3 separate regions of the Homo sapiens genome follow, and regions 1 and 2 are each linked to region 3. The links are contacts of gene promoters, found by promoter capture Hi-C in blood cells and fetal thymus (Javierre and others, 2016). All regions are on one chromosome and are shown on one strand. Each heading gives the region's core, a stretch centred on a gene start or on the middle of the fragment in contact. The rest is flanking DNA. Distances are from core to core; before and after follow the strand shown.

The links. The method cuts DNA at HindIII sites, captures the fragments that hold promoters and counts their contacts. A CHiCAGO score of 5 or more calls a contact.
Region 1: a fragment that was not itself captured here is called in contact with the fragment with the promoter of SERPINE2 in region 3 in 4 of 17 cell types (megakaryocytes, naive B cells, endothelial precursors and 1 more); the score reaches 6.5 in megakaryocytes.
Region 2: a fragment that was not itself captured here is called in contact with the fragment with the promoter of SERPINE2 in region 3 in 2 of 17 cell types (endothelial precursors and total CD4 T cells); the score reaches 5.4 in endothelial precursors.

The regions. Positions count from the first base shown.
Region 1 is chr2:224,292,403-224,295,102 of GRCh38, reverse strand. It overlaps the pseudogene LOC100289117. Among named protein-coding and RNA genes, the nearest start is that of FAM124B, 110 kb to the left of the region's middle. The HindIII fragment of the contact is 2,434 bases long and covers 214-2,647 here.
Region 2 is chr2:224,274,764-224,277,463 of GRCh38, reverse strand. No RefSeq gene overlaps it. Among named protein-coding and RNA genes, the nearest start is that of FAM124B, 130 kb to the left of the region's middle. The HindIII fragment of the contact is 2,209 bases long and covers 191-2,399 here.
Region 3 is chr2:224,037,917-224,040,616 of GRCh38, reverse strand. It overlaps SERPINE2 (serpin family E member 2), which reads left to right and starts at 1,331. Exons shown (of 9, transcript NM_001136528.2): 1 at 1,331-1,518. It overlaps LOC124907991 (a long non-coding RNA gene), which reads right to left and starts at 1,215. Exons shown (of 2, transcript XR_007088103.1): 1 at 1,075-1,215. RefSeq lists a silencer at 871-1,165. The HindIII fragment of the contact is 11,785 bases long and covers 1-2,700 here.

The sequences.
Region 1 (2,700 bases), core at 181-2,680, 250 kb before region 3:
GCCAAACCATACCATCCATCTTCCAGTTGCTTACCAGCAAAGATAAGTCTTTGCTAACCAGGCAGATTTCCTTCCTTATCCTGGATCTTGGCCTTTACATTTTCTATTGTATCTGAAGTTTCAACCTCCAGGGTGATGGTCTTCTCTGTAAGAGTTTTTGTAAAAATCTGCATTTTGATGGTGGTTCCACTGCAGATGGTGTATCGAAAAGCTTGTTTTCTTGTTTATAAACTGTTCATTCCATAAAGTCAAGCAAATCAAATGAAGTTTAAAAAGTACCCCTGAAGGTTATGAAAAATCCAATGTAATGTCAAAGTCTTTTATTCCCATTTAAGTAAGAAGTAAGGATTGCTTTTTACAACCCTGAGAATGTGATTAGTGTCAGTGAAGTGATACCTTTATTATATGAGTCATAATTCTTGGTACTGTTTATCATGACAGTCCAATAATTACTTAAAATTCCACCAACCTCTTTCTAGCTGTGACTCCACAAATGTGATTTTGGATTCTAAGTCATTTAACTTTTGATGGGGAGGTGACATTCTAGTAATGTCATCATGGCTACATTTCTTCATTTGAAACTTAGGTTTGTGTGTGGGTGTTAACAATAATTGATATCCTATAAATAGTTTTAAATCTGGGTTTTCTTAATCTCTCTAAGGAAACAAAATAATTTTCAAATATGGGATAACTTATGTTGAGTGAAATTAAAGCAGTTTGCCATACAGATCATCTTCATGAGGTTGAAAACTCTTGCCAGACTTAATTTCTTGATTTCATTATCCTTCAATCAGTTGTTTAGGGAGGGGGAAAAGAGGATTAACTTCTGAATGTTCTGCACATCCCCCTTTTCCCCCGAATGCTAATGGAAATTCTTCATTGGCCTGGCTCCTTTTTCCTGACCCTTTTGAGACCAATGCGGAAGAGGCTAAGCTGATTTACATAATAAAAGGCTGGGAGCAGAAGGAGAAGAAGCCCTCGTGTTTGGGTTGTAGAAGAGAGTCTAGGATTTGTCTTATACAAGATTTCCAAGCAGGAGCGCAGGGGAATGGAAGCAGAGGCTTTTGAGAAGTTTTTAATTTAGGTTAGGCTCGAATCGCTTTAATCTTTTTTGAGAGGAGTCAATAAAGAATGAAATTTCTTACCACTGACTGTTAAATGATGTGTCTGTAAATTTGACTTAGCCACGAGCATGGAGCCTTCAAAATTGTCCTGTGGCTCACCACCCCACCACTGATCTATTTACAAGTCTTTATTCATTGATCTAGCTTTGAAATCGCGATAGGGTTTTCTATGAGTTATGCTGGTCATGAAACAAACAGTTTTGTTTTAGAAAAATCAATTTGTTTGGCAAAACAAATTTGACATTACCTATGTGAATGTACTTCAGCAAAAGACTACCAGGAATATACCTGTAGTTAAATAAATAAAATTTATTACTCATTGCAGCCAAGGGAACATACATCATAGGGGTAATGGGGCATCTCAGTAAAAAGGTGTTAGAATCTACAATGGAATTTGCACCTTGATGGAGTAATTTGGGGGGAGTCTAAGGAAGTGGGGAGACTTGGGTATCTCAGTAAACCTTATCCACATGGTGGGGAGAAACAGCAGTTATTCATTTTGATTCAAAGGGAGTAGGCTTGGTATTTTGTAGGTGACATGATGACCTTGTTTTTCTCTGTGGTTAGACAAAATTAAGAAATTATGAAGTGGCCTTTCTTGGTCCCTTTTTATCATGGTTTCAGGGTAACCTTGTCTGAGATTGAATTTCTGTGAGATTATTTAGGAGATTATTTACCCAGGAGAAAACATGGAATAGTTGTAAGTGCCAGGCCAGCTTCTAAATGTCAGAGGCAGTTTTTTGTTTTGTTTTGTTTTGTTTTGTTTTGTTTTTGTTTGTTTTTAATTTCTCCATTCCTCTTTTGGCCAAGGACAGATGAAGTCACAGTATAACACATTGACCTATGATATCCAGATTTTCAGCATTGCCAAGTTTTGTTAATTAGCATTAGAATAGTGCTCACTGAACATAATCTAGTGATCCAGGATCAATCTTTCATAGTGCTGTGGGATGAGTTGTTGACATATTGAAGAGACAACGGCTGTATAGTAGCATTTAAAGCTCTGCAGCAGATATATTGGTTAAATGTAGCATAGTCAATTTTAGAAACAAAATATTATTAGTCTTTGTAATAGATCTTGAAACTATGCCCTACCTTATAATAGCAAGGCAAGAAAACATATCCCAGAATCTAGCTGGGTCTGTTTTAGAGAGACAGGTGATTTTTTAAAGAAAGCTCTGTGATAGACTGTTCTGTTTGCTCTGTAGTATTTATATAGGTGGGATAATAGTATTTGCTCTAGTACAAATTCCCCATTGGCCGGCTAAGAGAAAATCAAAGACTTTATGATGGTCTTTGACAATTGTGGTTAATTGATTTAGACCAGAGAGTTGGGCTTTCAGAGCAGAAGTGGTGTCATTTCGTGTCTTCTGACAAGATTAGAGACAAGATCTGGGTCACTTTTTATAATTGTGTTATACCTACTGTGTGAACTGTAGCTATAGAGTACACATGAAGCGTGAATCTGTTATCCTTCTTGGAAGTTGTTTCAAATAACCTGTGCTTGCTGTATTTTGGAAGCTTCTGGTATTATTTTTAAGGAAATATGATTTCCTGGAGGGATGGTAGTTTTAAA
Region 2 (2,700 bases), core at 46-2,545, 240 kb before region 3:
TACTGAGAGACTTCTGTTAAAGGTAAAATGTAATCACCTGTACTGTTCTCTTTTGTCTTCTCCTGCTTTTAAAATATTTTTCTCTAATTCGCCTCAGTACACACAAAGATTCAAAAAAGAAAAACTTGTAATGTATATTAGCAGTTTTATTTCCCTAAGCTTTTAAGCATCTAAAATCATTCAGGAAGCTTTTTGTTCACCTTGTGTATTTTTGAGTATTTCTCAAGTTGGGAAAGCTAGGATACTAAAATAGATTATTTTTATCGTATTTTAAAAAATTGACAACTAACAGTTCCTTTGAATGTTTATAATAACTTAGGTTAACAAAGTAGTTTTTCTCCCAAGGGTAAAAATAGATTGTGAGAGATTTGAACATTAATTTAAGTGTAAAGAGTTATAATTAGTGGCAGTAAACATGTAGAAAGATAAACATCTAAATTTCTTAAATGTCTATAGAGCTTTTATTTTGGCTTTAGAGGTATTAATAAGTGGCAAATTATTCAAGATGTTACTCCAAATATAATTTAGAAAACTTTTCTTGTCTCTTAATCATGGAACTAATATATTTAGATAGATTCCATTAATTTTTCAAAACATTGTTCAGAAATTAAGTTTTATTTCTTAAAAGCCCTGTCACCATACTCTGGAATTTTCAGCCTGCTGTCACTGTCTATTACCAAAGCATTTCTTTTTGAGGCCCTACAATAACAATTTAAACTCAAGGACTGGCTCCACTTTTTATTTGCTTCTGTCTTGCTTTATTAGTAGTAATTGTCTTTATTCTTTGTGTGCCTGTTATACGCAGGGTATGGCTCATGATGGAGGCTTTAAAACATTTTGAAATGATGAATTTCACAGAGAATTATAGTCATGGAGAAGGTCTTAGTCTGTTTTTGCTGCCTTAACAAAATAACTGAGGTAGCTTACAAACAATAGAAACTTGTTTCTCACAGTTCTGGAGGCTGGGAAGTCCAAGATCCAGGTGACAGTGGACTTGGGTGTCTGGTGAGGGCTTCCTCTCTGCTTCCACAATGGCTCCTTGTTGCTGCATCCTCACATGGCAGAAGGGATGGAGAAGGGACAACCTCACTCCCTCAAGCCCTTTTGGTAAGAGTATTAATCTCATTCATGAGGGTGAACCCTCATGGCTTAATTACCTCCCAAAGGTAATCCCATCACCTTGAGGGTTAGCTTCCAACATATGAATTTTGGAAGGATGCATACATTCAAACCATAGCAGAGGGGCCCCCAGTTTTAATTCCACATATATTTAATTTGGTATTGTAGGTGTTAAAAAATTATCTACACGTGGACACATCGGGGGATCAACACACACTGGGGCCTGTTGTGGGGATGTGGGGGGAGGGGGAGCATCAGGAAGAATAGCTAATAGATGCTGGGCTTAATACCTAGGTGATGAGTTGATCTGTGCAGCAAACCACCATGGCACATGTTTACCTGTGGAGCAAACCTGCAGATCCTGCACATGTACCCTGGAATTTAAAACAAAAGTTGAAGAAGAAAAAAGAAAATGAAAAAAGTATTATCTATGTGTCAGTCAGCCTAGAGTGTGTACTTGAGTAATCATCCTAGCAGGTGACATACTTATTCTTATAATATTGTCATTATTCAAAACATTTACTTTCCTTAGATCTTATTTGGAACTGCCCTAGAGTCAGTTTGCACACTGGAGAACAAAGCTCACCGTTTCACGTTTTGGATCAAAGTGGAATTCTACGGCTCAGTTGCCCACTTTAACTCATCTGACTTGGAGCTAAGTGACTTTTCTTTGTTTTAAAAAAATCATACAAAGGAAAAATTTTATCACTATTAAGGGCAGTGAGCAATGTCTCTAATGGCAATTCAAAAAAGCAGTTTCCAAAAATAACTTGTATATGGCTGAGGCACACTTCTGGGATGAGGGAGCCATCTCTCAAGGATGCTTCTTTGAAAAGACCATACCCACTTGTTATGTGTGCTTTGAAACTAGACAGATTATGTTATATCATACCTCATTCATTTAATTTATCAATCCAGATACACTTCTGTTAGGAGCTTTGGGAGTGTGGTTTGATTTTTTAAAGCATCACACTGTGCCCATGTTCTACATTCCGCAATGCGAAACATGGACTTCAGCTTCTATCTTTCTTTAAGAATTAAGTTCTGTAGATAGGTTACAATGCTACAAGTGGAGAATAAGCAATATAAAGGGCTTAGTGAAATATGAACTTGGGAAAGTGAGCTGTTAGTGTCTGAATGATATTTTAATATGTCAAAATTAAGTTTTGACAAATCAGACTGGAGACATGTCATAGAATTTCATTAGTGCAAGGGCTTTTAGAGATCCTCTAGTTACAATCCCATCATCTTTTGGATTTAAAATATTGATGGCTCAAGCTTACATGACTAAGACTAGAGAAGTAATTTTCAGCCCTCAGAACTAATGCATCAACCTTTGAGCAGAATACCATCCTCCCATCCAAACTGACCCCGTACTGTTAGTTCCCCCATGGTACCCATCGCTGAAATACTTTTTGAAATTGTGCATTCATGAAGACATCTACATTTCTTTAGCTATTTTTTAATATATGATTTTTTATTCTATAAAGAAATTAATATATCTCATATTTGATTAATCTATAGGTGCATTGATTTCTATGTAATGTGTGTATTTGACTTTGCATTTTTTGTATGGCCTGT
Region 3 (2,700 bases), core at 82-2,581:
TGACTTTATCTCAAGTGGTCAGGGGAGGCTTCCTAGGGGAGAGGACATTTGAGTTGTGACCTCAAGTGTAAGGATGCAGACAACATAGAAGATCCTGGGACAAAAAGCATTTCAGGCACAGAGAATAAGAAAGTTACCCTGTAACTGAATATAAATATTTGGTATGACTGTAAAATAATTAAACAGATGCTCATTTTTGTAGACTGTTTGCTCCTTATTTTAGGACCAAGCCTCCCATAGCCTGTTTCCCTCTATGAGAGACTGAGAACACCCTTAGGCTGGTCCAGATTTTACACTTTTCAGAGCAACCCCTTCCCCAACACACACGTGCACACTCTGGCACGGCCACCTGCATGCCAAGGGGTGACTGCAGGCTGATCTTCCAAGTGGCTCTCATCAGTAGCTGTACCCTTAATCCAGGGCTGTGTATAGGGAGATTTACATTTCTTCCTCGCTGTTGGGGCCGTCTGCCTGCTAGCGACGATTCTACACTAACGGCTACATAAATTACTGTCATTAAAGTTGGGTCCTTGGGTCCCCAGAAACCTAACTAGAGGCAAAGGAGGAACCAACTAAGAGAGGTCCAGGTAACAGAGCCCGGAGCGGGACGGTCATTTGTTGCAGGCCCCTGGGGTATGTGCCTGTCTATCGCGCACCGGGTCCCAGCAGCAGTGGTTACCGGCTGAGAAGGGCTGGGTTCCCAGGACGCTGCGGGTACCTCATGCTATCACCATAGCCGGGAATCCAGTTTTCTGGTTCCCCTCGTCTGTATTTGCCTAAGGCGACTTGCCGCCGTTCCTCTGTCCCCTAGGCAGGGAGAAGTCAGCTCTAGGACACCCTGCAAAACGCCTCGAGGGGTTATCTGCCCCTTCCCGGCCGCGTCCTGGCACCGTTTCCCCATCACCCGGAGGACTGAGCGCTGTCTCAGGGCGCCCTCTGTCTCTTCCAGGGGGCAGCCAAGACGACATGCCCTGCGTCTCAGGGACGCGGTACGAGCCCTGGTATTCCCCCCGCCACCTCACACACCCCCATCCGGGAGACCCACGTGCAGCTGGGCCCGGGCTGGCGCCGCACCTCGGGGTCTGCGCGTCTCCCCGGCGCGTTCCGGGCGCAGCCCCACGACACGGACCCCTGGCGGGGCGGCATCCGAGAAGTCGCAGGCGGAGAGGGGGCGTCCTGGAGGCCGGGCGCGGGGACGCTGCGGCCCGCGGCCACACAAAGGAGGCGGCGGGAAGGCGGGGCAAGGCGGGCCGGGGGCGGGGGCGGCAGGAAGGGGCGGGGGCCCGCGCGGCGCCGCCGATAAAGCCCCCGCCGCCGCGGCAGCCAGCTTGCGCTGTGGGGCTGCCCGGGCTGCGCGGCGTCTGCAGGCGCCACCGCTGCCTCTTTCCGGCTGTGACCCTCCTCGCCGCCGCCGCTTGGCTGCGTCCTCCGACTCCCCGCGCCGCCGAGACCAGGCTCCCGCTCCGGTTGCGGCCGCACCGCCCTCCGCGGCCGCCCCCTGGGGATCCAGCGAGCGCGGTGAGTACAGGCTGCGCGGTGAGTCCCGGGCGCGGCCGGCGCTGCCCTCGGCGGGGGACGCTCCCCGGGGCTCCGCGCGCCACCGGCCCTGCTCCCTGACCTTGCGCCCGGCCGGGAAGCTGCGGGGCCAGCGGGACCCTGGGGCGCCGACGTCGGGGAGCAGAGAACTTTCTCAGCCTCCCGCGGGCCGCCTTGGCCGGGGCTGGGTGCTCGCCGGGCATCCCGGTCCCGCCCGCCGGGAGCCCCGAGCGGGACCCGGGCAGGGCAAGGCGGGGCCGCCCCGGGGTGGCGTCCAGTGATACCCGCAGCTGGGAGCACCGGGGCCGGCGTGGCTCCTGCCCGGCCATCCGAGCCGGCCCTGACCCTGAACCTGAGGTTTCCAGCTGCTCGCCGGCAACCCCTACCCCGGACTTAGGCTGCGCGCCGCCGGATGGGGAGAGACTGGCGCACTCTTACTTGTTACCTCTGCCTGGGCAGAGGGAGGTGACGCGCGGTGTGGGGAAAGCCTTTAACTTGGCCTCTGGCAGCCGATTTAACCCGAGCGAGCAGGTCTTTGCTATTTTCATCATCTGTAGAAACGGGAGTTGCGAGGCGGATGAGTGACTGCAGGTAAAATGAAAGTACGGTACTCAGAAATTCTGGAAGGAATTAGGCATTTAATGTGTCCACAAACTGAGCGGGGAAGGAAGGCTTCTATTACATAAGACAGCACTCCACCTTCAGGTATTATGGAAGATGCTGTTGAAGGTTTTAGTGTTTTAATGAACGAAACACATTCTTTGTGTGTGTGTCTCTGGAGAAATCTCGAATGCTGCTGTCTTGCTTTGGCTACTTTGCAGGGGACGTTCTTATATTTAGCATCAGCATAAAAAGGTGTTCGAAGGTGTGACTTCCTCTTTCAAGCCAAGAAGCCGTTTATTTGTCTGAATTGTTGTGGAACAATATATGTGATAATTGTGTACTTTGAAGATTTTATATCAAAACTTGAGCACAGATAACTGGAAGAATTGTCAACATTGCTAATTTGTATATCCTAAACCACACTTCGAAAATTGAAGACAGTTTCAACACTATCTGAAGGTCTAAATCAGTACTTATTTGCTATTTGCAGTATTTCAATAGAAAAATTTTTGGCTATGCAAATGAAGGTACTAACCTGAGTAATCTAAGGTTTCTTTTAAC